4 separate regions of the Homo sapiens genome follow, and all the other regions are linked to region 1. Evidence: promoter capture Hi-C in 16 types of primary human blood cells and fetal thymus (Javierre and others, 2016). All regions are on one chromosome and are shown on one strand. Each heading gives the region's core, a stretch centred on a gene start or on the middle of the fragment in contact. The rest is flanking DNA. Distances are from core to core; before and after follow the strand shown. Region 1 holds the start of KIF13A (kinesin family member 13A). Region 2 overlaps KDM1B (lysine demethylase 1B). Region 3 overlaps KDM1B (lysine demethylase 1B). Region 4 holds the start of LOC105374953 (a long non-coding RNA gene).

Region 1 (6,947 bases), core at 2,497-4,996:
AAAGGACTCTCTCCTCGTCTTGCAAAAGTGAACCTATGCTCTCAGCATCCATAAGACCACACAAACACCACCTGTCTTGGCAAGTTGACAGGACCTTGGGTAGCATCCACAGCCCCTCCTCAATGCTCCCATCACATTTGCTAAGCCCTTGCTAAGTGCCAGTATGCAGGAGCATGAGGTACAAAGAGAAGTAGGATAAGGTACCTACCTGCCTTCAAGCAGTTCACAGCCTCCAGGGAGAGAAAGAGGAAACAGAGAATTTTGAAATTATGTGGTTCATGAAATGGCAAAAGTATACACCAGCGTAATTTACCACGTTGTATTTTAACTACTTTTTCCTCTCTCTCCTCCTTCTCTCCAAGGTGAGTGACTCTGGTGTAGGTACTGGATCCACAAGTATCTTTGAATCCCCTATGCTGAGCATGGTACTGAAATGATCTGAACTTCATAAATGTCTCCTGGAGAGCAATGCAATGGTATTTTAAGAAACAAATCCATGTGTCTTAATGTTTCAGAATGGTGATCAGTATACATATCAACTACTAACCTGGACCTATGCAATGTATTACAATACTAGAATTTCAGCAACAAAACAAACATCTTTAACCTCAGAGATCCTCTGATCTTTTAGTCCTAGCTACACAGTCTTGGCTTTGGTTTTGTAAAATGGGGAAACAATGAAAGCTGACCCCATCTGTTTTTTTTTTTTTTCCCTGGACGTCAATGCATTCTCACTTGTTTTTACTGGTAAGACTGAAAACTTTCACCCACTAACCTTCAATTTCTATCCATGGCTAATTCATTGGTAATTTCTTGCAACTTTCAGAAAAACAGTAATTCTCAATTTGACACAGGTTTGCCAATATGCATTTAAAGACCTCTTACACTTCAAACCTTGGACTTGCAGATATGAAAAATAATAACATTCTCAGTATTCTACTCTTCACCTTTGCCCTGCCCTGAGCACTATCTAAAAACCAATGACAGAAATGAATTGCAAACATAGCATGAAGCACTGCTGCAATTAATCAACCCAGAGCCCAAGGGAGGAATTGTTTCTATTTTTAAATGCACTGTTACTTTAAGGGAAAAGTCTGTGGAGAAATATGAAACCAAGCTGCATAATGAAAATAAAAATGCATTTGGTGTCTTCATCTGTGCAAAGACAGTAATCCTAATGTACAAGGAGCACTGTTTTGTTGACTACTCAGTTTGTCTGTAAATGAAATGACCGGTACTCAAGACAGAATCCCACAGAAAGCTCATCTGCTATTCAAAGAATTAGATCCGTCAGAAGGACAAAACACGAGAGTACCCATATTTCAATGCTATTTTTATAACTCCAGATAAGGGACTATCGTAAGTAAGCAGATGAATAGATCCCAAAATCACCCTTCAAATCTTTACCTAAAAGATCCTGATTAGTAACTAACGTGGTTCAGCCCGAAAAATGATCAACTGATTACTTAGCATTTGGAACCAACTGTCCACAGTTATAGATTGTACCAAATCCCACAAAATCAAATCTGTTTCTCTTCACAAATGACAACACTTCATGTCATTAAACAGTAGCTAACAGTCGCACTGCTTATGGTTAAGAGTGACAAGGAGCAGGTGCCAAGCCAGCAAGGAAAACAAGTAACGGCTACACAACAGGAGCTAAAAAGTATTCTACCTGTTCCCCCAGACTGCTTTCAAGAATCTGACCCAACAGAATTTTTTCCCGAAACAATATGCAGTTTGCGGGGGGGTGGGGGGAGGGGACATTCGTTGGTGATATGGGCATCTAATTTAATCTGTAAATATTTAATGTACTCAATGAGTTTACTTACTATCACCATGAAATATGCTATACTATCTACACTGCTATAAATGCATCTAAAAATACATCCATTACTAGACAACATTCAGTACAATGTACAATAAACACTACATTCAGTGTTAAACACAACATTTTACATATAGCTTAGCTATTTAATATCACCACCAGAATCTGCTAAAGGTAGCAGAATGTTTGCAAACTGGATAAAAACTGCTATGCTCAACACGAAAAGCAAAGAATCCCCAATCTTATCGCCTCATGATTTCTTTCCCCAAATTTGGCAAAACTGAGCTTGAACACCACACATTATAGAATGGAGGCATTGCTTCTCTAAGCAATAATGTCACAAACCCTGCTTCAGAGTCTCTCTTCAGTGAAAATCTCTGAAGAAGGAAATTCACTAAATTGTATTCCATCGATCAACAGGTGATTCGTGGAAACACAAACTCATATTCATTTCCAATGAAAATTAATATTGTAAACTCTCCCGTTTTTTCACATATATATATTTACAAGCTACTGCATTATTATATTGAATGAATTCCAACCGATTTCTTCTCAGAGGCTTACTAGAAAAATGCCAAATATTCAAATTATTTTGGGGCGTTAACCCATACTGTTGCATGGAACAGAACGGAATTAATAAGGATCCAACAGTTACCACTTTTCAAATGCAAATATGTTGCCATCTAGTAAATACAGCCCCTTTTTAAACATCCCTCAGTGTCTATACAGTTCAGGGCCCTACTTTTGTTTCTTTGAAAATCAAAATTCGCGCATTACATTGAGGCATTATCTCAACTCAGCAACAACAACTAAAATAGATACTAACTAGTCCAGCCTGAGTCTACATCGTACAAGACTTTTGCTTTATTTTTTCCTCCCATTTTAGACACACTGTCCCTAAACAATTCTGCCAAAGGAAACAAACCCTGCAGTGATGAAAAGAATCACGGACACTGGGTTCCACGAACAATAAGGTCGTGGGCTGGTCACCTGCCCGCCTCGGGCCTCAGTTTTCCTGTCTGTAAAATGTGGCCGCTGGACGAATCACCTATGGGGTCCCATCCGGCCCTCTCCCTCCCGGGTGCCTCGCAGCCCGCCCGGGCTCAGCTGACTGGTGCTGTGGCCAGGGTGCCCTGCCTGCCGCCGCTCTAGATGGAGGAGAAGGGGGGCGAGGGAGGAGAGGAACTTGGACTTGCAACAGCTTCAAACAGGAGCCGGCGACAAACTTGAAGCCGTCCTCCTAACAATAGGAAAGAGCACTCCCATTTTCCTGGCTCAAACTTGCGGGACCCCGCGAGGCTGGATCCTCCCAGCCGCCCTCTCGGAACCCGCTTTACCTTTCTCCCTGTTTGGTGTTAGAAGGAGGAGGGTGCAGGACCGTTTGATTCCCTTCCATCTCCACCACGCACTTGGTGTTCAGTTCCAGTTCTGAAAGCAGAGAGAAAGGGACGTTGCAAAGTCCAGCATCCGCGCCTCCAGCCCGCCCGCCCGCCAGCCGCGCCGAGCGGGGCTCCGTCCCTGGAGGCGGCCGAGCCTGGAGACGGCGCCCCGGGCACCACGGCCAGCGCGGACGCCGCCTCCGCCCCGGCCCCCCGGCCCCGGCCGCGCTCTCGCCGTCCCGGCCCCGCAGTTTCTAAAGTTGCCCCCGCCCTCAGCCCGAGCAGAAATAAAAAAGAGCGGAAAGCTCCTCACCTCGTCGGTTCATGGGCCGGACCCGGACGGCAACTTTTACCTTGGTATCCGACATGTTGGCTGCGCTCGCCCGGCCGCTCGCCGCGCCCGCTCGGCCTTAGGCGGCCCCTCACGCGCGGCGCCGCCGCCGCTGCAGCCGCGCGCCCCTCGAGCGCGGCCGCCGCCGCTCCGCCGTGAGCTCCGAGAGGCAGCGCCGAGGCGCGCGGGCCATCCCGGGGGAGCGCGACGCGGGGCACGGCCGCGGCCCGGGGAGGGGCGGGCGCGCGGGGCGGGGCGCGGCGGCGGCGGCGGCGGCGGCGGGCGGGGAGGAGGCCTCGCCGGCGGGCCCAGGCGCAGCTCTAGCCGCGCCGCCCCAGCCGAGACCGCAGCGCCGCGGCCCCTCGCGGCTGCCCGGGGCCCCGCGCCGCCATGTTCCGCGCCCGTCACCCGCCGGGGCTCGGGAGAGGCCGGACACGGCCACGCGCGGCGCCCCCTGGAGCGGCGGGACGGCAGTGAGAGGAGCGGCGAGCAGCGCGGCGCTTAGGGGAGGCTGGAGTCCGGGGCGGGACGCATTGTTTCCCCAGGGGACCTCCCAGGCCAAGCCTGCACCGGCGCCCGCGGGGCCCCCCCCCGGACACCGCCGTGAGCTCGAGCCGCCTTCTGGGGCCGCTGCCACCCGGAGCCCCGGGACGGCAGCAAGGACCACGGCTCGCCGCGCTGGGTGCGCAGGCCTTCCCCTCCGAGTCCCGGCACGCCGCCCCCTCTGTCCCACACGGAGCCTGCAGCGGTATTTTAAGATCTCTGTGGTGAACCGAGACTAGAAATGAATCTGTGAATCCACCACCGAAACAGTGTATGTTTGTAAATAGTGCTCTCCCTTCCTTTCCCGGCCTCTCTTGTCTCGGGAGGGATGTCAAGTGGGCTGGGAGGGCCATTAACTCTTACATAAGAATTTAATAGCAATGGATTCTGTCATCCTGCCAAATGCAGACCTCGCTGCCAGGGCGGAACTGGGCGAATCCGATTTATTCTGTTTGGTTCAACAAGTGCTTAAGGGGCGCTCACCGAGTGCCAGGCATTTTGAAGCGTACAGAAGTCAAAAATCCAGAGTTTAGATCCAGGAATCTTTCGATTTTGCTTAAATCTAGAAATCCACTTATTGGAAGATGCATTGAGGTTTTACTGTGTGCAGGGTGCTGTTGAGGACACACAGAAACATGAATAGCATGATGCAGAGGCACACGCTAAGGTGGAAGAGAGGGCGTGGAGACTTATTATGCTAGACAGTGTACGGCAGGTGCTAGGAGAGGGGTCCGTCCGCCTCCAACCGAGGTGATGCTACGCTTGACCCTCGAACAACACGGGTTTGAACTGCACGAGTCCACTTACACGTGGCTTTTTTTCAACCAAAATCTGATTGAAAATACAGTATTCGTGCTCTGGCACAGTGCCTTACGCCTGTAATCCCAACACTTTGGGAGGCCGAGGCGGGAGGATCACTTGAGGCCAGGAGTTCGAGACCAGCCTGGGCAATGTAAAGAAACCCCATCTTGCCAAACATAAAAATTTAAAAAATAGCCGGGCATGGTGGCAGGTGCCTGTAGTCTTAGTTACTGGAGAGGCTGAGGTGGGAGGATCACTTGAGCCTGGAAGGTTGAGGCTGCAGTGAGCCATGTTCGCACCACTGCACTCCAGCCTAGGCAACAAAGCAAGACCCTGTCTCAAAAAAAAAAAGGGAGAAAAAAGAAAAGACAGTATTTGGCAGGTTCAAAACTGAGAGATCCAACTTTTCCTATTTGTGGGTTCTGCAGAGCTGACTGTGGGACTTGAGTATGCATGGTTTTGGATGTTCCTGGAACCAGTCCCCTGTGTACACTGAAGGACAAATACTTCAGCCCCACCTTATTGTAGAGCCAGCTATCTCAGTCTACCTCTGAAGGGCCTGTTGCATCTTTCCTCCTCTCCATTCCTGCTGCTGCAATCTCACTTTACCTGTCCATTCACTTGTTCAACAAATGTGTTCTGAGCGCCCTACTATGTTACAAACACTGTTGTAGGCTTTAGGCTACAGGCTCTCAGCTGCTGCTCAGAAAGAGGTGAAATTTCCAGCCCTCTGAGGCTAAGAATCTAGGTCTGTGCTTACCTCTTCACTTTTGGGCTGCTGAGACATCCTGTTAACCCTCCTAGCTTTGCCTCCTCTAATCACTCCTAAATCCAGCTTCCAGACTGATTTTTCACAAAATTAAAATTTTATCCTTTAATCGTGCATGGTATTCTATTGTTCAAAAAACTCTCAGGCTGGGCACGGTGGCTCACGCCTGTAATCCCAGCACTTTGGGAGGCCGAGGCTGGCAGATCACCTGAGGTCGGGAGTCCGAGACCAGCCTGACCAACATGGAGAAACCCCGTCTCCACTAAAAATACAAAATTAGCCAGGCGTGATGGCACATGCCTGTAATCCCAGCTACTTGGGAGGCTGAGGCAGGAGAATCGCTTGAACCTGGGAGGCGGAGGTTGCGGTGAGCCAAGATCGCACCGTTGCACTACAGCCTGGGCAACAAGAGCCAAACTCCACCTCAAAAACAAGCAAACAAACAAAAAACCTCTCTGTTTAATATTACCTCCCACCATTCCTGAAATTCTTTATCCAGGACCTTTTCACAAGCAAGATACCATCCCTATGCTAAGCCATTGCTCTGGTAGTTTCTATCAGTGGGAATTGTAGAGGGTTGAATTTGTAACTCCCAAAAAGGTATGTACAAGCCATAACCTCCAGTACCTGTGAATGTGACCTTATTTGGAAACAGGGTCTTGGCAGAAATAAAATTAGGATGAGGCCATACTGGGTTAGGATGGTCCCTAAATCTAATGACTAGTGTCTTTTTTTTTTTTTTTTTTTTTGAGACAGAGTCTCGCTCTGTTGCCCAGGCTGGAGTGCAGTGGCACGATCTCAACTTACTGCAACCTCCACTTCCAGGTTCAAGCGATTCTCCTGCCTCAGCCTCCCAAGTAGCTGGGACTACAGGCATGTGCCGTCATGCCCAGCTAATGTTTGTATTTTTAGTAGAGATGGGGTTTTGCTGTGTTGCCCAGGCTGCTCTCGAACTTCTGACCTCAGGTGATCTGCCCACCTCGGCCTCCCAAAGTGTTGGGATTACAGGTGTGAGCCACCGCACCTGGCCTGACTAGTGTCTTTATTAGAGAAAGGAGAGGGGGATTTGGATACACAGGGAGGAAGACCATGTGAAGACAGAGGCAGAGATTGGAGTGATGCAGCCACAAGCCAAGGAACACCGAGGTTTGCCAGGAGCCACCAGAAGCTAGGAGGAGGAAAGGAAGCCTCCGGAGGAAACACGGCTCTGCTGACACCTTGATTTGGGACTTCTAGCCACCAGAACTCTGAGACACTAAATTTCTGTTGTCTTATGCCACCCATTTCATGGTCATT
Region 2 (6,947 bases), core at 2,282-4,781, 220 kb after region 1:
AGGGTTAAATAGAAGTATGTGTATGTATATATATATATATATATATATATTTTTTTTTTTTTTTTTTTTTTTTTTTTTTTTTTTGAGATGGAGTCTCGTGCTGTCACCCAGGCTGGAGTGCAGTGGCGCAAACTCGGCTCACTGCAAGCTCCGCCTCCCGGGTTCACGCCATTCTCCTGCCTCAACCTCCCAAGTAGCTGGGACTACAGGCACCCGCCATCACGCCTGGCTAATTTTTTTTTTTTTTTGTATTTTTTAGTAGAGATGGGGTTTCACCCTGTTAGCCAGGATGGTCTCGATCTCCTGACCTCATGATCCGCCCGCCTCGGCCTCCCAAAGTGCTGGGGTAACAGGCGTGAGCCACTGTGCTCCGCCCAAATAGAAGTATATTAAAGGCTCTGAGAAGTCCTGCATTAAAGAAATCTATTTTACTTTTATTCTGTGCTCTCCACATTTTTTTAAACCACGGAATCCTTCTTCAGATCAGGAAAGTTCTGTTTTCATCTTGAAATCTTGAAACTATCAGAAGTACTTTCATATGGCTTAAATTTTTTGTAAACAGCTTTATAGTAGGTGAACAGTACAAGGTACTGCTGAATCAAATACCTGAAATCACACTGAGATTTATAGTATTGGAGAATAAAGGTGCCTCCTTGGGGTAGAGGGGATTTAGTAAACCTTGAAAATTTAAGTTTAGTTATATCTTAAGTGACTATGAAAAAATATAATTGATGAACTATCACTAGTTCCTAGACTAGCTATGCTTCCTACACTTCAGGTATCTAAAACTTATTTCATAGTCCTTGATTTTCATACAGAAGTAAAGGACTGCATGTCACATGGGAAAGACAGGTCTAGGGAATGAGTTAGTCGGGGCAGGGGATCCTAACATTATTCCTGCCATTAACCAACTCGGAGATCTTGGGCAGCAATCCCCGGGCTGCACGTCGGAACCACCTGGGAGGCGCTTACAAAGAAAGGCTGGAAAGCCCCACCCTGATGCGTTCTTGTTGAATTGGCCTCGCTTTTTTGTTTGTTTTTTTCAGAGACAGGGTCTCAGTCTGTCGCCCAGGCTGGAGTGCAGTGGCACAGTCATAGCTCACTGTAGCCTCGAGCAACTGGGTTCAAGGGATCCTCTCACCTGAGCCTCCCTCGAGTAGCTGGGATTACAGGCATGCACCACCATGCCCGGCTAGTCATGTTTTTAAAGCTTCTCAAGTGATTCCAGTGTGCAGCCGTGGTTGAGAACCTTGTCTGCAGTGACCTTTTCTGTAAGCTCTTAATAGGTTTTGCCTGGTGGTAAACAGTGTTTAAAAATACTACCTTTTAAAATTGCAAGTCACCCGACAGTTCAGCCTCTGCTGTTCTGTAGCTCCACTTCTTGGTGTCCAGGACAGCAAGCTGGTTTTAACTCCCCTGCTTTGTTACTCTCTGCCTGACCCTGGCCAGTACTTGTGCGTTTCTGTGTTTGTATTCCAGCCTTCTGGAGAAATTAGGGCACAGCTTCAGGCTGCACTTTGAAATGTTTAAAACAAATATTTTTATTGTAGCTAGCACGCACCACAGTTTGCATTGGAAGTTTCCCCAAACTTGTAAGAGAATAATTTTCAACCCAACGTGATAGACCGATGAACCTCCAGCAGACTAACTCAGTCTAGGCTGCTTCCATTGACATCTCGCTTTTATTACTTACTAGGATGTGTTTATATCATTTGCCTATTTGTTTACCCAAGGCTTTTCTTTCTTTTTTTTCTCTTTCTTTTCTTTTTTTTTTTTTTTTTTTTTTTTTTTTTTGTTTTACAGGGTCTTATTCTGTTGCCCAAGCTGGAGTGCAGTGGTGCAGCTTGTAGCTCACAGCAGCCTCGAACTCCTGGGCTTGAGCAGTGCTCCCACCTCAGCCTCCTGTGTAACTGGGACCACAAGCACATGCCACCACACTCAGCTAATTAAAAATTTTTTTTTTGTAGAGACAGTGTTTCCCTATGTTGTCCAGGCTGGTCTTGAACTCGTGGTCTTAAGCAATCCTCTTGCCTCAGCCTCCCAAAATGCTGGGATTATAGGTGTGAGCCACTGCACCTGGGCTACTCAAGTTCTTATGCTTTTCAGTGCTATTTTGTCATTAAGAAAACATCTAGATTTGTGGGCGTGGGTGGCTCATGCCTGTAATCACAGCACTTCGGGAGGCTGAGGCGAGAAGATGGCTTGAGGCCAGGAGTTTGAGACCAGCCTGGGCAACATGGTGAGACCCTGTCTCTACCAAACATAAAAAAATTATCTGGGCATCGTGCTGCACACCCATGGTCCCAGCTACTACAAGAAGCTGAGGCAAGAGGATCACTTGAGCACAGGAGTTTGAGGCTGCTGTGAGCTGTGATCATGCCACTGCACTCCAGCCGGGGCAACAGAGCAAGACCCTGTCTCTTTAAAGGGGAAAAAAATCTAGATTTTATTTATTTTCTTGCAATTTAATTGGATAGTAATTGGTTTTTTGTTGTGGTTTGCCTCATTTTTTTTGGTTGCATGGTAATTATCTATAAATAGATTATAAACTTCTTGATGATAGAGAGCATATTTTATACTTTATAAAAATATTTTCATGTGGCAGAAAATAGTGACAAAATCAGAGAACTCTGAACTTCCTGTGATCCTAGAATTGAGAGTTAAGCCAAATATACAAAATCTTTGAAGCCTCAGGTAGATTGGGTGCTTGGTCTTCAACTCCATTCCACTCTGATCCTAGGGTGTCATCCTGTACTGCAGATATTAGAAAGCAAATACACACACTCTTCCCCAACTCCCTACAGCAGGTTTCTAAACATCCATCCAGCCCAGCCAATCTGATGCACTTGCATGAGATGTAGAAGGTGTAGGTTGACTTTCGCTTCCCTTCTGCTGCCTCTGTTGAGAGCACACAATGCTGGAGGTGTTTGGTTCTTCTGCAGCAGGGTTCGTGAAAGTTGCAGGGTTTAGTCAGTAACCACAAGTCAAGAAGGAGGCCGTAAGGCATGCATGTTGCTGGTGCACGTGGTTCTGTATGTGGCATGATTCTGGAGCTGGCAGTAGTAGTAATGGCGTCCTGATTGTAGCAACGATAATGGGGTCTGGAGCCAGAAATGTCCAATTCCCAATGTTTGTGATGTGTTTCACTACTTATGAAGCATATTGATGTATCTTGTAAATTTTAGTTTTAAAGCATCACCCTGATTCTCAGAGGTTAGTGGGGCAGATACTACCTTCATTTTATAGATGTATGGCAGAGATGAGTGGCAGGCTTGGCCACACAGTAGAATGTATTAGGAATGATGCATAAAGTTCTCCTGACTCCATAGTTAGGGCTCTTTCCTCCTCAAGTACTGCTTTTCGGGGTTTTGTTTTTTTTTTTTTTTTGAGACAGTCTCGCTCTGTTGCCCAGGCTGGAGTGTAGTGGCGTGATCTCGGCTCACTGCAAACTCCGCCTTCCAGGTTCAAGAGATTCTCCTGCCTCAGCTTCCCAAGTATCTGGCACTACAGGCACCTGCCACCACACCTGGCTAATTTTTGTATTTTTGTAGAGACAGGGTTTCACCATGTTGGCCAGGCTGGTCTTGAACTCCTGACCTCAGGTGATCCACCCGCCTCGGCCTCTCAAAGTGCTGGGATTACAGGCATGAGCCACCGCACCTGGCCTCTGCTGACTCTTCTTATCTAAGATGATTATTCACCATCAGGACGTTTTTTGCCCACTCTTCCCTGTGGTTGCCACTTCTGCTTAGCCAGGCATTGGCACCCTTGTGCAGTGAGCAACCTGCACAGTTGCACATGGCAGCCCTTGTTCTTGCCAGTATAACAGCATGGGTTGTTGATACCAGTGTAGTGGTAGTGTGAGGTTCTGTTGCTGTTTGTTTGTTAACTGTTAATTATTTTCCACAGGTATTAGTCACTGTACCACTGGCTTTACTACAGAAAGGTGCCATTCAGTTTAATCCACCGTTGTCAGAGAAGAAGATGAAGGCTATCAACAGCTTAGGCGCAGGCATCATTGAAAAGGTGACTGAAATGACCTCATCCTCAGCAAGAAAGAGATTAATGTCAGATGATAGATGTTAACTTCTGATATGGAGAAGTAGTGGGTACTATCTAAATACAAATAAAACTCAAGGATTTCCTTTTCATTTGAGTAATTGTTCGTGAAGAACACAGAAGAATATTATCAAAACGAAAGGAGGAGAGCTGGCTGAGGTCTGTGAGTTTTGACTTTAGGAGAAAGAATCTTGTTATTCACAATTTGAATTTGGTATAAGCAATTCTTTTATCCCCTTTTTTCCCCCCTTCTGCTTTCTTTCTTGTCTGCTTTCCACTCATTGGCCCCAGTGAGGACAGAGGTTTATTTCTCCTGCCTTTAATATCTCCTGTAGCAGAATGGGCCAGTGCTGCAGCAGATTCTGACAGACCTATGAGTAGTGAGAGTTTAACTTAGGGACATACGCCCAGGAGTGAGTCTTAGGAATGCTGGGCATCTTCAGACTAGCTTCTAGGTTGCCAGTGGGTTCCATTATCCATGGGAATGGAACTGAGTGGCATCAAAAGCAAGGAGCTGGGCTGGGCACAGTGGCTCATGCCTGTAATCCCAGCACTTTGGAAGGCTGAGGAGGATGGATTACCTGAGGTCAGGAGTTCAAGACCAGCCTGACCAACATGGTGAAACCTCATCTCTACTAAAAATACAAAATTCGCTGGGCGTGGTGGTGTGCACCTGTAATCCCAGCTACTTGGGATGCTGAGGCAGGAGAATCACTCGAAACCGGAAAGTGGAGGCTGCAGTGAGCCAAGATCGCTCCATTGCACTCCCAGCTGGGCAACAAGAGCGAAACTCCGTCTCAAAAAAAAAAAAAACCCAAAAAACAAAACAAAACAAAAAACAACCAAGGAGTTCACAGGGGGAAAAAAGGAGGTGAGGAGAATGGAAAGAGCGGTATTTGGGGTTGTTCTTTCGGGCAGTGTCTTTGTTTTAGAGTAGAGCTACAGGTTGCTGCTTAGATATTGCCTGTGGTTTTGTGACGACAGACACCTAACCACCTTTCTTCTGCTCACTTTGCAGATTGCCTTGCAATTTCCGTATAGATTTTGGGACAGTAAAGTACAAGGGGCTGACTTTTTTGGTCACGTTCCTCCCAGTGCCAGCAAGCGAGGGCTTTTTGCCGTGTTCTATGACATGGATCCCCAGGTAAAATCATTCGTGAACTGTGGTTTGAATTTCCGTCTTAAAGTTTAGAATTTGATGTGATAATTACTCACCTATCAAGCTCAGGAACTAACGAACATCATGGAGACCCTGGGTCTATGTTTATATTCTGGGAGGACACTTGGACTGGACATTTTCCTATAGGAAAGGAGCCCCAGTATTTGCCATGTCTTCTTAAAGTCCTCATGTTGCTCCCTGGGACATGAATTGGATGCTTGTGGAAACTGTCATTTCAGGCTATGGGGGAATTCCTCTTAGGTGAAGTTGGAGACATCAGAGTCAATGAGTGGTGCTTGAAACTTCCTCTCTGAGGGTCCTCTAGGGAGCTGGGAAAGGGTGTATGATTGGTGAGGGAGGGTGTGAGTGTCAGCAGATGTGAGAGCTGAGGGAAGGAAGGAGAGAGGAGAATGGCATACCCAGAGCTGGACGGGGGTGGTCACTTTCTCTGCCGTCATGTCACTGCCACACGAAAGAATCATGGCTGTTTCTGACTTTCAGTTTCAAGAAACTTTGTCTTAAAAGGTTTCACATAGGAGCCGAGGGCAGATTTTCTTTACCATTTGAGGTTTTTTTATTTTTCATTGTTTTATCTGCAGATTTTCCTTCTCCATCTCTTTCTACTTCTTCCGAAGCAAGCTTTAATTAGTGAACAGCCAAGGGAACCTTAAAGTTGCTATTTACATTTCTTAGTGTTTTTCTTTTCCAGCAGGAAGCAATAGAGTGGATGGATGAATAATGAGTGTTTGCGAGGAAAATGGACTGGCGAGTGACGTGCGGATAAGGGACAGCCAGAAATAGTGACATTTAACTTGTGAGAGTGAGGCTCTTGGCCGGGTACAGTGGCTCACGCCTGTAATCCCAGCACTTTGGGAGGCCGAGGTGGGTGGATCACCTGAGGTCAGGAGTTTGAGACCAGTCTGGCCAACATGGTGAAACCCTGTCTCTACTAAAAATACAAAAGTTAGCCGGGCATGGTGGCAGACGCCTGTAATCCCAGCTACTCTGGAGGCTGAGGCAGGAGAATCACTTGAACCTGGGAGGCAGAGGTTGCAGTGAGCCAAGATTGCACCATTGCACTCCAGCCTGGGTGACAGAGCAAAACTCTGTCTCATTTAAAACAAAACAAAACAAAAAACAAAAAAAAGAGGCCCTTATCTGTGGGAGCTGAGCACTCACAGACCTCCTGCTTTTCCTTTCATGTCTCCAGAAGAAGCACAGCGTGCTGATGTCTGTGATTGCCGGGGAGGCTGTCGCATCCGTGAGGACCCTGGATGACAAACAGGTGCTGCAGCAGTGCATGGCCACGCTCCGGGAGCTGTTCAAGGAGCAGGTGAGAGAGAGGAAGCCCTCCTTGAAAGGGGCAAGCCGTGCTTGCTATCCAGAGCAGGTGTGAAGCCCAAGCAGCCAGCGTCACTGAGAATCACAGGAAGGAAGGCAGAGGCCACAGTCTTCTTTCTTTCAGAGTCCCACTGCCCACCTCAGCACTGAGATTAGTCTGTGAGGGCTGTCATCACAGAGTACCGCAGACTGGCTGCCTTAGACAACAGAAACTTATTCCTCACAGTTCTGGAGGCTGGAAGCCTGAGATCGAGGTGTCGGCAGGGTTGGTTTCTCCTGGGTCCTCTCTGTTTGGCTGGTAGATGCTGTCTTCTCCCTGTGTCCTCACATGGGCTTCCCTCTGTGTGTGTCTGTGTCCTCATCTCCTCTTCTTATGAGGACACAAATC
Region 3 (6,947 bases), core at 2,585-5,084, 170 kb after region 1:
AAAAGAAAAAATCTTTTTGAATAAGCTGCTTCAGAAAAACCTAGGGATTATTATAATGAAATCTACATATTGATATATCCACTTATATATTTACCAAAAAATCCCACTTTTTTATCACATTAAAAGAAAACCAAAGCCAAATTTTAAATGCTTGAATTAAAAATTAGAAATATATGTATAATGTTGAGCATGAAACCAATTGGTTATATTTAGGTGTGTTTATTAATTTGAAAAATCAAGAAGGAAGACATTTTAGTATACTAAAAATTTTTTCTTCATTTTAAGACCTAAGGACCCAGCAAGTGGAGATATATAAATTACATCAAGTGCCAAAAGTTCTGAGAATGGATTCATATAACCCTCAATTGTATAAAGTTGAAAATATGCTATCATAAAAACCCTCGATAAGATTTAATAATGGCTTTTATAGCTCATGTTTTCATTTCCTTGTTAACCATTTCTTGAATTCTTTGTTGCATTAAGTACCTATTTTCTAGTATTCAGTTAGATTAAAATGTTTGATGAAATTTCAGGAAACTATACTTTCTTTTGAGAATGCATACCTTCCCAGGTGACAGGGTCAAATGTTGCATGAACCTAGGCTGATTCATTTATGTTCCTAAACCACACATTTGACTTCAGATATTTTTGCTATAATACTTACATATACTATACATTTACAAATACTATATATTTACATATATTTGTGGTTCATGTTATGAATAATGTCAGGTATATTTTATATATAAATGAAGAGATTTGTATATTTATGTATATAATAATTAATATTTATATGTGTCTATGAAGAGATTTGTTAGAGTGGACAGCCTTTTGAAAATAAAGTCCAAAAAGCCTTCTTTGGGTATAACAATTATAGGTAGATAGTCCTTTTTTTTTTTTTTTTTTTTTTGAGATGGAGTCTCACTCTGTTGCCGAGGCTGGAGTGCAGTGGTGTGATCTCGGCTCACTGCAAGCTCCGCCTGCGGGGTTCATGCCATTCTCCTGCCTCAGCCTCCCGAATAGCTGGGACTACAGGTGCCCGCCACCACCCCCGGCTAATTTTTTTGTATTTTTAGTAGAGATGGGGTTTCACCGTGTTAGCCAGGATGGTCTCGATCTCCTGATGTCGTGATCCGCCCACCTCAGCCTCCCAAAGTGCTGGGATTACAGGCGTGAGCCACCGCGCTGGCCGGTGGATAGTACTTTGAACATCATTAGCATTTTCTCCAACAGTATGATAGATGTTGTAGAACTAAATGGCAGTTTATTTAATGCTTAAAGAACTATAGTGCATTTCAGAATATGTAGGGATTATGTGTTCACAGCTAACATAATATTTATTGTTTCTGAGAAAGTGAAGATTAAGTCAAAGGAGGCCGGGCGATAGAGTGAGACTCCTTCACAAAAAAAAAAAAAAAAAAAAAAGTCAAAGGAAAATCATCCGTAACATTGATGTTAGGATGTGTCAAAGTCAATGTAGATGGCAAAATGAGTTTTTCCATAGGATGTTAATAATCCATGAAAAGTACTCTTATGAATGTTAATACAGCTCACAAATATGAAACAATAGGATTACAAGCTCCTTAAAGCTTTTCTCCAAGACTAAGATTATATATCTGGAATTTGTATTTTATGGTTCCACTTTTCCACTTTCAAATTCTTTATCCATAGGTATGTCCTATTTATTTTTCATTTATCATTTTCTGTGTGTATGTGTAGTTAAATCCAATAGATCAAGGAAGGAGATGAATGATAATTATAGATTCTGTATATTACTGAGTACTTATGCTAAGCATTTTTCATTCCTTAATCTAATTGAAAAAAATTCTGTTAGCTCTTAATCTTTCATAGCTGCTACACATTATTTCTCTTGTAGACTTTGGTTCTTAATATATGTTTAACCATGCTGTTATTGGACTAGTTTGGGAAATTTTTTCCAGTAGAAGATACCAGTGCTTCTATCTAATTTAGATCTGTATATTCAGTAGTGACTAGATGGTTTTCTTGATATTTATTTGTTGAGTTGTACTGAAAAGGAATGAATGAGTTTTCTTTTATTTTTTTTGAGATGGAGTCTTGCTCTGTTGCCCAGGCTGGAGTGCAGTAGCACAATCTCGGCTCACTGCAACCTCCGCCTCCCTGGTTCAGGCGATTCTCCTGCCCCAGCCTCCTGAGTAGCTGGAATTACAGGCACGCGCCTCCATGCCTGGCTAATTTTTGTATTTTTAGTACAGACGGGGTTTCACAATGTTGGTCAGACTGGTCTCGAACTCCTGACCTCATGATCCGCCTGCCTGGGCCTTGCAAAGTGCTGGGATTACAAGCATGAACCACTGTGCCCAGCCATGAGTTTTCTTTTTAAAGTGTAATAAGAGATCAAAGTGCAGGAACTGCTAAGAAGACACAGTAAAATGGAGAGGAACATAGGCAAAACTAGGTGGTTTTCCTCATTGAATTTTATAAACATAGTGTGGTTTGTTTATTGGTCATTCATGTGGCATGTTTCTCATTTTGTATCTTTTAATGTGCATAACTACTAATAGGTAATGTTTATTGAGTACTTACGATATGCCAGTTTTGGTGCTTTAAATAGGTTATCTTGTTTAAACTTCATGCCAGTGCTATAGTAAATGCTTATGGTGCCCATTTTATGTGTGAGAACACTGAGGCTTAGAGAGGTTAAGAACTTGAAAATGGTGGCTTGAGCCAGGTGGTGTGGTGACGTGCACCTGTATTCCCAACTACTTGGAGCTGAGGTGGGAGAATCGCTTGAGCCCAGGAGTTCCAGGCTAGCCTGGGCAACATGGCAAGAATGTCTCAAAAGAAAAGAAAGAAAACTGTAGCTTTGTATTTAGGCAATCTGACATACATTCTTACCTACCAAAGTGTATAATAACTTGCTCCAGACTGTTAAAAATATTTGCAGATGCTAATATTTAATGGTCTGATTTTTCTTTTGCAGATTATTTAATGTAATGGCAACTCCACGGGGGAGGACAAAGAAAAAAGCATCTTTTGATCATTCTCCGGATAGCCTTCCTTTGAGGAGCTCCGGTAGGCAGGTAGTGTTCATTTATTCATTCAACAAGCCTTTTTTGAGCATGCAGAATTACTGATTGGGACTGGAGAATTAGAGTTGAAAAGATTACTCCAGCCCTCAAGTTGCTTGTATTCTAGGGGAGAAATTCTCAGTACGGTCATAACACAGTGTGATAACATGATAGAATATACAAAATAGAAGCATTATCTGGCAGAGGGAACTGTAAGTATAAAGGCGTAGAGTGTGAATCAGCATAGGATGTTCAGAGATTCACGGCTGTGTGGTTGCTTCCAGAGTGTGAGGCTGGGGCCAGATCATGCCTGGCTTGGATGTCATTCATAGGAATTTGGACTTCAGCTTGGAATTGGTTGAATGCTATTGGAGGGTTATGTATAGGGCTTTTTGGGTAGGGCTTTTATTCTTTTAAAAGAAAAAATTGAACAATGTAATTCTTTCTCTATAATTTTTCTAGCTTTTTATTTAAAATAGAGGGGGCCAGGCACGGTGGCTTACACCACCTGCAATCCCAGCACTTTGGGAGTCCGAGGCCGGTGGATCACAAGGTCAGGAGATCCAGACCATTCTGGCTAACATGGTGAAACCCCGTCTCTACTAAATATGCAAAAAATTAGCTGGGTGTGGTGGCGGGCGCCTGTAGTCTCAGCTACTCGGGAGGCTGAGGCAGGAGAATGGCGTGAACCTGGGAGGTGGAGCTTGCAGTGAGCAGAGATGGCGCCACTGCATTGCAGCCTGGGCGACAGAGTGAGACTCTGTCTCAAAAAAAAAAATAGAGGGTATAACTGCTCTAAATAAAGAAAAAACAAATCTCAATTTGGGGAATGACTTTTTTTTTTTTGACTCATGTCACTTTTTTTTTTTTTTTTTTTCCAGACAATCTCCTCTATCCCCCAGGCTGGAGTACAGTGACACAATCGTGTGTGCCACAATGCCTGGTTGATTTTTTTTTATTTTTAGTAGAGAGGAGGTCTCGGTATGTTGCCCAGGCTGGTCTTGGACTCCTGAGCTTAAGTGATCCTTCCACCTCAGCCACCCAAAGTGCTGGGGATTACAGGCATGAGCCACCACACCCAGCTGATGTCACTTTTTTCTAAGAAAGACTCATATGAATTTAGTTCTTTGCTTAGACATCTGTTGTTAAAATGCTATTTCTATATCTCTAGCAAGTTAGTAAATTACTTGCACAATGCAGTCACCAGGAAATTGCTGTATTGTCATCCCTAACCTACTGCCATGATGTTTTTGACCTTCATGTTTAGAACTCAGCTGTGATTTCAGTAGTGAACCTTCATCCTTAGTCATTTTGCCATCATCAGTGAAATTTTAACATCAGCTGTGACTCCCTTAGGCGAAGAAGAAAGCAACAGAGACAACAGATGAGGATGAAGATGGTGGCTCAGAGAAGAAGTACAGGAAATGTGAAAAGGCAGGCTGTACGGCAACATGTCCTGTGTGCTTTGCAAGTGCTTCTGAAAGGTCTGTTTAGATGTGTGTCTTGGCCTCCCATTTCTGCTTGTGAGAAGTTCTTTGTGGAAACATCATCCTTGTAGATAGTTTTCCTAAAGATAGATACAGATACTATAAGTCATCTAATCTAATAATAGAGACATTGCCCAGACATTCTGTACACACCACACCCTCCTCAAGGCCCTCCCTACTTATCCCTAGCCTACTGGGAGAGGCCACACCCATGTCAATTTTGCAACACAGTGTCCTCAAATCCAGCCAACCATATCTACCTCTCCAAGGGTTGAGGGTGGGATGGTGTATGTCGTGGTGAGACAGTAGAGAGAACTCATGAGCTTTCTGTAGACACCAGTGTTTGTTTACTTTTCGTTGTGTTTTTCTCTCTCATATAACATGCCACCTCTTCCCATACGCACATACAGGTCTCATAGAAACTACAGCTAACTGCAGCCTTGCCATTTTTATTGTGGGGTGACACAAGTATGATCTTCTTTTTTTTTTTCTTTTTTACTTCCAGAGGAAAATATTCAATTAAGGGTTAAGGTTCAATAAAATCGAGAAAACAAATCCTATTTGTTTTTAAACACAAAGAGGGCCAGGCATGGTGGCATGCGCCTGTAATCCCAGCACTTTGAGAGACCAAGATGGGCGGATCAGTTGAGGTCAGGAGTTCCAGACCAGCCTGGCCAACATGGTGAAACCCTGTCTCTACTAAAAATACACAAATTAGCTGGGCACGGTGGCAGAAGCCTGTAATCCCAGCCACTCAGGAGGCTGAGGCATGAGAATCGCTTGAACCCAGGAGGCAGAGGTTGCAATGAGCCTGAGATCGTGCCACTGTACTCCAGCCTGAGTGACAGAGCAAGACTCCATCTCAAATAAATAAAAAAATATTAAAAATAAACACAAAGACGTGGTGATCGTGTTCATAGTGGCATGATTTTTCATTCTCTTGCTATATTATCAACTGTTTGACAAGTTATCTTTGCCAAATTGCCTGCTTGATGTTCAGATTTCAGCTGACCAGATTCCCTCGCTGTTCAGTACTGGGCCCCACGTTATTCTCTCATGTCCACATATGCAGCCTGCAGCAAGCACAGTGGCATCTGTCCTTTTGTGTCATAAAACCCTATCATTGCCCCAAGGAGTCTTCTTAAGACTGCTAAGCCCCAGGCAGCCAGCTAGGTTAGGTCCCATGGCCTAAGTCCCTGCATCCTTCCTGTGTGTTATTATCTACTAGTAATCCATTCCTGTTTCCCCTGTCCTTAAGGGGCTAAGTGGAGATAATGCAAAATGGGTTCATAGATGGTGCTTGCAAGATGTTTTTTAAAAAATGGGAGGAGAAATGTTTATTCATTACCAAAGCTATATGTTTTTCACTATTTTCAGATGTGCCAAAAATGGCTACACCTCCCGATGGTATCATCTCTCCTGTGGGGAACATTTCTGTAATGAATGCTTTGACCATTACTACAGAAGGTATGTTCACTAATTGTGTGAGGTTTCCCTGGAGAAGGGGACCGTGGCAGGGGCAGTGCGTGTGGTCAGCTGATTAAAGCTTAGTCTCGAGGCTTACTGAATTATTCAGCTCTTTCAGCCATGCCTGTGATGACTGTAACTTGGACGAGAACTTTGATGTTGTAGTTTGTGTGCATGTTTGTGTGTGTGCACACTCAGGGATCAAAAAATATCTGCCATTTCTTTTTTTTTTTTTTTTGAGGCAAGAGTCTTGCCTAGGCTGGAGTGTAGAGACATAATTTCAGCTTACTGCAACCTCCAACTTCTGGGTTCCTTAATAGAGATGGGGTCTCGCCATGTTGTCCAGGCTGGTCTCAAACTCCTGGGCTCAAAAGATCTGCCTGCCTTGGCCTCCCAAAGTGCTGGGATTACAGGCGTGAGCCACTGCACCCAGCGAAACAGTTATTTCTTGAGTCAAAGTTCTGGAACATCTAGGAGATGTTGATTCTATTTTATTGTTTTCGATTTCATTTGTGCTCTAATTTTTATTTTTTACTTGTGTTTGCTTTAGGTTTAATTTTTTATTTCTCTAGTTTCATAAATTAGTAGCTTCAATTATTTATTTTTAGATCTTTCTTCTTTTCCAATAAATGCGTTTTTAAATGCCATAAATTTCTGTCCAAGTAGGTTGTGATATTTCACAAATTTTGACAACTTTTATTTTAATTTAGTTCAAAATATTTTTAAATTTCCATTGAGTTTTCCTTTTTGATCTATAGATTATTTAGAAGTAAATTGTTTAATTTACAAATATTTGGGACACCTCCAGCAATTTTTCTGTTACTGATTTCTAGTTTAGTTCAGCAATGGTCTGAGAATATACTTTGTATGATTTCTACGTTTTAAATTTGTCAAAGTTTGCTTTATGGCCCGTAATGTAGTGTATCTTGGTAAATGTCCTGCA
Region 4 (6,947 bases), core at 2,652-5,151, 140 kb before region 1:
CAGTATGTAAATAAGACGAGGCCAGAAGCAGTGGCTCACACCTATAACCCTAGCACTTTGGGAGGCCAAGATGGGAAAATTGCTTGAGGCCAAGAGTTTAAGAGCAGTCTGGTCAACATAGCGAGACCCCATTTCTTTAAAAAAAAAAAAAAAAAAAAAGGGAAGGAAGAAAAGAGGTAAGATGTTGAGAGAATTCCATTCAATTCAACCAGTCATTATGAAAAAAGAGCCAGTTACTAAATGATCTAAATCACGTAATCACCAAGCCTTGGGGTAATCCAGTAAGGGACACTACATAAACTCACATCCAAAATTAAGGGGGCACTATTTACATTTACTCTGGGACAAAAGTATCATCTAGATGCTGCCTGGCAAACAGAATGCACAGCCATCCCCACAAGTGTAGCCACAGTGGCTGAGCCTGGGCTCGGAGACCAATTGACGGCAACCATTTCCAAAATCCACACTTAGAACTTGGTGACCTGGGAGACATCATTAAACTTGCTCTGTCTTGGTTTTCTCATCTGTAAAATGGGGATAACGGACCCATGCCTTGATGCTGATGTGACATTGCATATGGAGCATTCAGAATAGTGCCTGGCATTAGCAAGAGCTCAATAAAGTTAGTGGTCATTCCACATCTACGCCAGTCATACACACACACACACTCTAAATTCCAACAAGTCTACAGACTTTCTAGTGTGATCCCACAAGCCCCACCGGCAGGCATGGCCCAGCACTTGCAAATGAATCTCCACGAGGCGTGGCAATCTTTTCTTTGAAACCTGCTCCTTCACACTCCCATTTCTGCCTCCCCATCCTGGTTTCTGAACTCATTTTGGCATGCAGGGCTGCAGTGCCAGTCTGGAATCTTGCAATGCCTTGTCAGGAAATACAGCAAAATCCTTTGTTATCAGAGCAGGAGACAGAATGACTGGATGATTAACTTCCTATAGTAGTGGTCTTTCCCTGTGAGTACGGCTGTGTCCATCTGATAGAGGGGCCACTATTTTACTTCTAATTTTTAAACTTTTGTATATGAAAATAATAATGTGTTAACATCATCTTAAATGCAAGCTGTGCAAACATGTTCCTGAATACATTTCCTCTTGTCACATTCTGTCCTAAACGAAACCCTAAGTTATTACAGCTCAACAGAAAAAGATTACAAGTACACACTAAACTACTTTCTGTTGAACTTGGAATCATGATAATGGTTATCCTGATTATAAAAAACAACAGCTATAACAGTTAATTTTTATTCACTGCATACTAAGTGCTAGGCATTTTTCTAAGCACATTATGGTCATTTTATCCCTAACAAATCGGTGAAGTAGGTACTATTATTATTATTATTTTTTTGAGATGGAGTTTCACTCTTGTTGCCCAGGCTGGAGTACAGTGGCGCGATCTCGGCTCACCGCAACCTCTGTCTCCCGGGTTCAAGAGATTCTTCTGCCTCAGCCTCCCGAGTAGCTGGGATTACAGGCGCCTGCCACCATGCCTGGCTAATTTTTTGCATTTTTAGTACAGAAGGGTTTCATCATATTATCCAGGCTGGTCTCAAATTCCTGACCTCAGGTGATCCACCCACCTCAGCCTCCCAAAGTGCTAGGATTACAGGCGTGAGCCACCGTGCCTGGCTTGCTTTTATTTTTAGTTGACACACAATTGTGCATATTTATGGGGTAAAGTGTGATATTTTGATACATGTATACAATGTATAATGATCAATTTAGGGTAATTAGCATATCCATCACCTCAAACACTTATCATTTTTTTGTGTTGGGAACACTGAAAATCCACTTTCCTAGCTATTTGAAAATATACAACATACTGTCAATTACAGTCACCCTACAGTGCTACAGAAAACTAGAACTTATTCCTCCAATTTAGCTGTAATTTTGTATCCATTAACCAACCTCTCGTTATTCCCCCTGGCCTCCCCTTTCCAGCCCCTAGTAACCACTATTCTACTTTCTACTTCCATGAGATCAACTTTTTTAGCTTCCACATATGTCAGAATATGGTATTTGTGCCATTTTTGAGCAAGCTGCACCATGCAGTTTTATTTAATTAAAACTCGTACATCTTTTTTTTTTTTTTTTTTTTTTTTTGAGACAGAGTCTCGCTCTGTTGCCTAGGCTGGAGTACAGGGGAGCAATCTCGGCTCACTGCAAGCTTTACCTCCCAGATTCAAGTAATTCTCACCCCTTGGCCTCCTGAGTAGCTGGGATTACAGACGTGTGCCACCATGCCCAGCTAATTTTTGTGTTTTAGTAGAGAGGGGGTAGAGATGGGTACAAACGGGGTAGAGACCAGGTAGAGAAGGGGTTTTGTCACGTTGCCCAGGCTAGTCTTGAACTCCTTGCCTCAAGTGATCCACTCACCTTGGCCTTCCAAAATGCTGGAATTATAGTTGTGAGCCACCGTACCTAAACAAAATCCTTATACATCCTTTTTTTTCCTTTGAGATAGTCTCACTCTGTTGCCCAAGCTGGAGTGTAGTGGTGCAATCTTGATTCACTGCAACCTCCACCTCCCAAATTCAAGCGATTCTCCTGCATTAGTCTCCCAAGTAGCTGGGGTTACCGGTGTGCGTGACCGTGCCTTTTTAGTAGAGATGGGGTTTTGCCATGTTGGCCAGGCTGGTCTCAAACTCCTGACCTCAGGTGATCTGCCCGCCTTGGCTTCCCAAAGTACTGGGATTACAGGCATGAGCCACCGTGCCTGGCCAAAAACCTCATACATCTTAACAGACACAGGTTGTTGTTGTTTTTCTTCAGCCCAGTTTACTAAAGCTATACAGACTTTAAACAACCTGTACATCAGAACCATCTGACCCTCATAATGCAACAAATCCCCTCCAGAAGGAAATCACCCAGGCTGTTCTGGGACCAGCCACCTTACTTGTTAATGTTGCTGCCTTCTTTCAGTCGCTCTCCTGCAGCTCCTGTTTTAGATACTCTTTCGCTACCCGCCAGGTCTACCAAGCTGACCTTACTGACTTTCTCCCCGGAATTCTAGTTATAGGAAACGAGAGAGAGAAGAAAAACTTATCAATAAAAACCACATGGATATCTACATATATGTTAGCACTATAATTGAGCAATCCATCCCACTCTCATATGGCAAATTTCTTAAGTTTTTAAACGGTCAGAAGAGTTATTTGAACCAGCAATTAATTTCATAGTTAACATTTAAATAGGCGTAGAAATGTAGCATTTTGTTTTGCAGCTGGGTAGCAAGTACACCCAGCTTTCTGGAATACAGTCAGAAAGCTGGAGATTTAAAATGCCTATGAGGAGATATGAGGACATGAGGATTTCTGCACATTCAAGTCAAATCCTTCTTCCTTTGAAAAAAGGTTTAGGCTAAAGGTTGTGGTGTCCTCTTTAATATCCCTCAATGGCTATGAAGCTGACATGTTTCCATGGGAATTTCAGCATGAAAGGATATATATTAAAAGCTGTATGGTGATGTCATCACACTTGTTAGGGACTTTGCACAAGAAATACAATTATTTTTCTTTTTTGTTTTTGTAGAGTCTGGGTGTTGCTATATTGTACAAGATGGTCATGAACTTCTGCCCTCAAGCAATCCTCCCGCCTCAGACTCCCAAAATGCTGGAATTACAGGCAGGAGCCACTGCACCAGGCCAAAATCCAATTTTTTAAAAAGTCAAATATAAAGAAAGACCTAACAAATTAAATGATAAGCAAAGTAGCTCACCTAGTAAGCAGAAGAGCCAACATACAATTCTCAGCCACTGAACCCAACCATGAAAGACTTTACCTATATGGACACTTTCAGTTCTTCCACCCCCACTCCAAAAAGGTTCTGCCTAATCCCTTACCCCAGACTGCAGGTCATAAAGTGTCTGTGTGATTATGATGTTGAACACAGCATGGGAGCGGCTGCTTTCTTCGTTCATGTTGGTAGCAGCTACCGTTCGAGACTTATTTCCCTCAGACATCAATGACTCAATATCCTAGGGGCAAAGCATAAGGAAAAGACCATAAGCAAAAACACAAGAATGTAGTCCTGCACACCAGGTATATGTATTAATTATGATTCCTCTGATGCCTTTGTCACCACCCTTCCATAGAAACCTCCCTGCCGCTCCTCCATTGAGCATGGTTTGAGCTTCCACCTCACTCAAGACTTTGTAATGTATGAAATGTTTCCCTAATTCTTTCCATTTCCCAATTGTCTTCTTTCTCAGTTGAGTCCCTATTTTCTCCTTTTTGGGTTCCTGGGATAGCTAATATTTATTGAGCACTCCGATAATCAATAATAGCAGTGACTTGATTTAACTCTTACTCTCCTGTGCTTACCAACCCGCTGATGCCTGCCTGTCTGCCTCCCTCCTCCAATACTGTGGCTCCCTGATGGCAGGGTTTTTTCCTTATTCCACTTTGTACACTTGCTCCTAGAATGCCTAGAGCCTATGGGATCTTATGAAATATTTGCTAAATGAACTTTATTTTCTTGCTTTTACATACAAGGATGCTGAAGTTCGTGGAGGTCAAGCAACTTTCCCCAAATCCAGTAAGAGGTAGAGCTGGGATGCAAATAGAGCACCCTGGCTCCTACTAGTAAGTGACAGGATAACATCAACACTTACCTCAACCACACTGAGCTAAGAACCAGGGACCTCAGTGAAGGAGCTGAGTTAGCACCTTTAGACCAAAAAAGTATCCATTCATTTCAGAATCGAAACCTTTTTAAAATGATCACTGTGCTCTATTTCCGATTAGAGCAATTCTATATATACCTTGATTTAAATGGCTGGAGAGAATCACTGCACAGATTAGTTTTAGCCATACTAAGTCTGGGGTGATAATGGGCCAGCCACATCCCACAAACAGCACAAAGTAAGTGCAGGGATTTGCTTGTTTCTCTGTGCATTCACTCATTCATTCACATCCTTTAGCAACAGAGATAGCAGTTTGTGTTATGAGATTTCCAAAGCAATCACTATAGAAATAGAAGCAGAATCTTGAGTCAGATCTTAACAAGGCATATAAGTCAAAGAGTAAATAAAGTAAAACAGGCCGGTCAATGGCAAGAGGAGTGATTCAGAAAAACAGGAGAGCCAGAAGTGACAGAAACCAAGGCAGGAGACCCTGCCAAAAAGAAAGGGCTGTACTAACTGCCAAATACTGTTTAGAATACCACATGTCTAGAAGGATGTCACTGGCATCATTGGGAGAACAGTTTTAACAGAGTAGTATTAGTGAAAATATGCAGCAACCTGAAAACACTGGGCCTCCCGGCCATACTGTAAAACCTTCACAACAAAGCAGCTTGAAGAGTGTGATTAAAAGCCCTTTTCCTCTCTGTTTGCGGTGTGCTGATACTGGGTTTCTGAGGCCCTGAGTAGTATCATTCTGCTATAAAGCATCCACATAAAATATACTCAGTATCACTTACATACTTTGATTTATAGTCAGCTTTTAATCACATTTTAAAAAAAATGACTTACCTCAAAACTAGTGACAGCTAGTTGAGATAAACCATCTACATATGGTCCCAAAACTTTATGTTCTCGAACTTTAAGAGACTGTCTACTCCTGCGGGAGGGAGGAAAAAGGAATAAATGAATCACACCAAAGCTGGAAGCTTTTCTTTCTCTTTAAGTACACAGTAACTAAGATAACAATTTCAAAAGAATTTTTAAATGACTCCTCCCCCCAACAAATCTAAAAGCTACTTTATTTGGATTAGCAAAACAATGTTTAACATGAGAAATGTGTTTTATGCTCTGATTTCTATTTAAAGTATGTTACTATTTTAAACATTCTATCTCTAGTCACAAACCTTCCTGGGTTAGGCTGTCAGTTATACTTTGGGGAGGATTGGGGGAAAAAGGGAACCAAAAAACATGCCAGATCAAATCAACCTTTCGGCTATTTCATAAATAAGCATATTCTCAGCAGATAATGTCTTAAAATGGTATTTATTTTTTGAGACAGGGTCTCACTCTGTCGCCCAGGCTAGAGTGCAGTAGCATGACCCCGGCTTACTATAGCCTCAACCTCCCGCCCAGGTGATTCTCCTACCTCAGTCACCCACGCAGCTGGGACTACAGGCCCATGCCACTATGCCTGGCTAGTTTTTATATTTTTTGTAGAGATGTGGCTTCACTATTCTGCCCAAGCTGGTCCTGAATTTCTAGGCTCAAGCAATCCTCCAGCCTCAGCCTCCCAAAATGCTGGGATTGCAGATGTGAGCCACCACCGCCCAGTCAAAATTTTTGAATTACTAGTAGACAGTATTAAAACATTTAAACTCTACTTCAAGTCTGCATTGGTTTATGCTACTTCTATGCTTACACTATTTTATACAGAAAGTGAGATTATAGTACAGAGTTTGTTTATAATTACTGACGTTTGTACTATATTTAGAATTGGTTCTGCTAATGAAAATTTTAAAGCTCTTTTGAATTTTTAAATGATAAACCTGGTTTGGAACCCATTTCAACAGTTTATCAAAAGACAATGGAGATTAAAAGCAAAGCTATGTATATACTGACCATATTGTGCACACCATCTTTTTCAGGGCATCACATATTAATCATCTTTCAAATTAAGAGTCATTGCTTAGCATCACCAATATATGGGAAAAAGGAGCTAAGAAGCATCACTGAATGCATCCCAAAGTCCTGGCATTGTTCCCTGAAGCACTTTTCAGTTATGCCGTTTCATTTCATAACATCCCTACAAAGTAGGCTTTACCACCTTTATTTTAAAGACGAAGAATTCAATGTGACAGTGAGCTACTTAGATGCACACGATCCAGTACACAGCTTACTCTGCTTGCCAGAGATTCTATAATGCTATTCAGCAGCAAGAAAAAGCAAACCTAGCATTATACCAAGTGCCTGTGATGGTGTCCAGTATCTGAAATTCTTGTACACTGCTGGTGGGGGTGGAAATTGGTAC

Evidence for each region. The method cuts DNA at HindIII sites, captures the fragments that hold promoters and counts their contacts. A CHiCAGO score of 5 or more calls a contact.
Region 2: a fragment that was not itself captured here is called in contact with the fragment with the promoter of KIF13A in region 1 in 1 of 17 cell types (neutrophils); the score reaches 5.7 in neutrophils.
Region 3: a fragment that was not itself captured here is called in contact with the fragment with the promoter of KIF13A in region 1 in 1 of 17 cell types (neutrophils); the score reaches 7.7 in neutrophils.
Region 4: a fragment that was not itself captured here is called in contact with the fragment with the promoter of KIF13A in region 1 in 2 of 17 cell types (endothelial precursors and megakaryocytes); the score reaches 6.0 in endothelial precursors.

The regions. Positions count from the first base shown.
Region 1 is chr6:17,983,889-17,990,835 of GRCh38, forward strand. KIF13A (kinesin family member 13A) reads right to left here and starts at 3,747. Exons shown (of 39, transcript NM_022113.6): 1 at 3,521-3,747; 2 at 3,166-3,256. The coding sequence starts at 3,575. RefSeq lists silencers at 3,333-3,452, 3,823-4,322. The HindIII fragment of the contact is 11,131 bases long and covers 1-6,947 here.
Region 2 is chr6:18,208,579-18,215,525 of GRCh38, forward strand. It overlaps KDM1B (lysine demethylase 1B), which reads left to right. Exons shown (of 22, transcript NM_001364614.2): 18 at 3,910-4,026; 19 at 5,078-5,203; 20 at 6,429-6,551. Among named protein-coding and RNA genes, the nearest start is that of DEK, 52 kb to the right of the region's middle. RefSeq lists enhancers at 3,088-3,137, 6,745-6,864 and a silencer at 6,485-6,534. The HindIII fragment of the contact is 4,647 bases long and covers 1,209-5,855 here.
Region 3 is chr6:18,156,921-18,163,867 of GRCh38, forward strand. It overlaps KDM1B (lysine demethylase 1B), which reads left to right. Exons shown (of 22, transcript NM_001364614.2): 3 at 2,963-3,062; 4 at 4,407-4,534; 5 at 5,915-6,004. The coding sequence starts at 2,976. Among named protein-coding and RNA genes, the nearest start is that of KDM1B, 5.0 kb to the left of the region's middle. The HindIII fragment of the contact is 4,494 bases long and covers 1,588-6,081 here.
Region 4 is chr6:17,846,467-17,853,413 of GRCh38, forward strand. KIF13A (kinesin family member 13A) reads right to left here. Exons shown (of 39, transcript NM_022113.6): 7 at 5,489-5,576; 8 at 3,857-3,991; 9 at 2,911-3,023. It overlaps LOC105374953 (a long non-coding RNA gene), which reads left to right and starts at 3,968. Exons shown (of 3, transcript XR_001744007.2): 1 at 3,968-4,055; 2 at 4,509-4,598; 3 at 6,565-6,947. The HindIII fragment of the contact is 3,444 bases long and covers 2,180-5,623 here.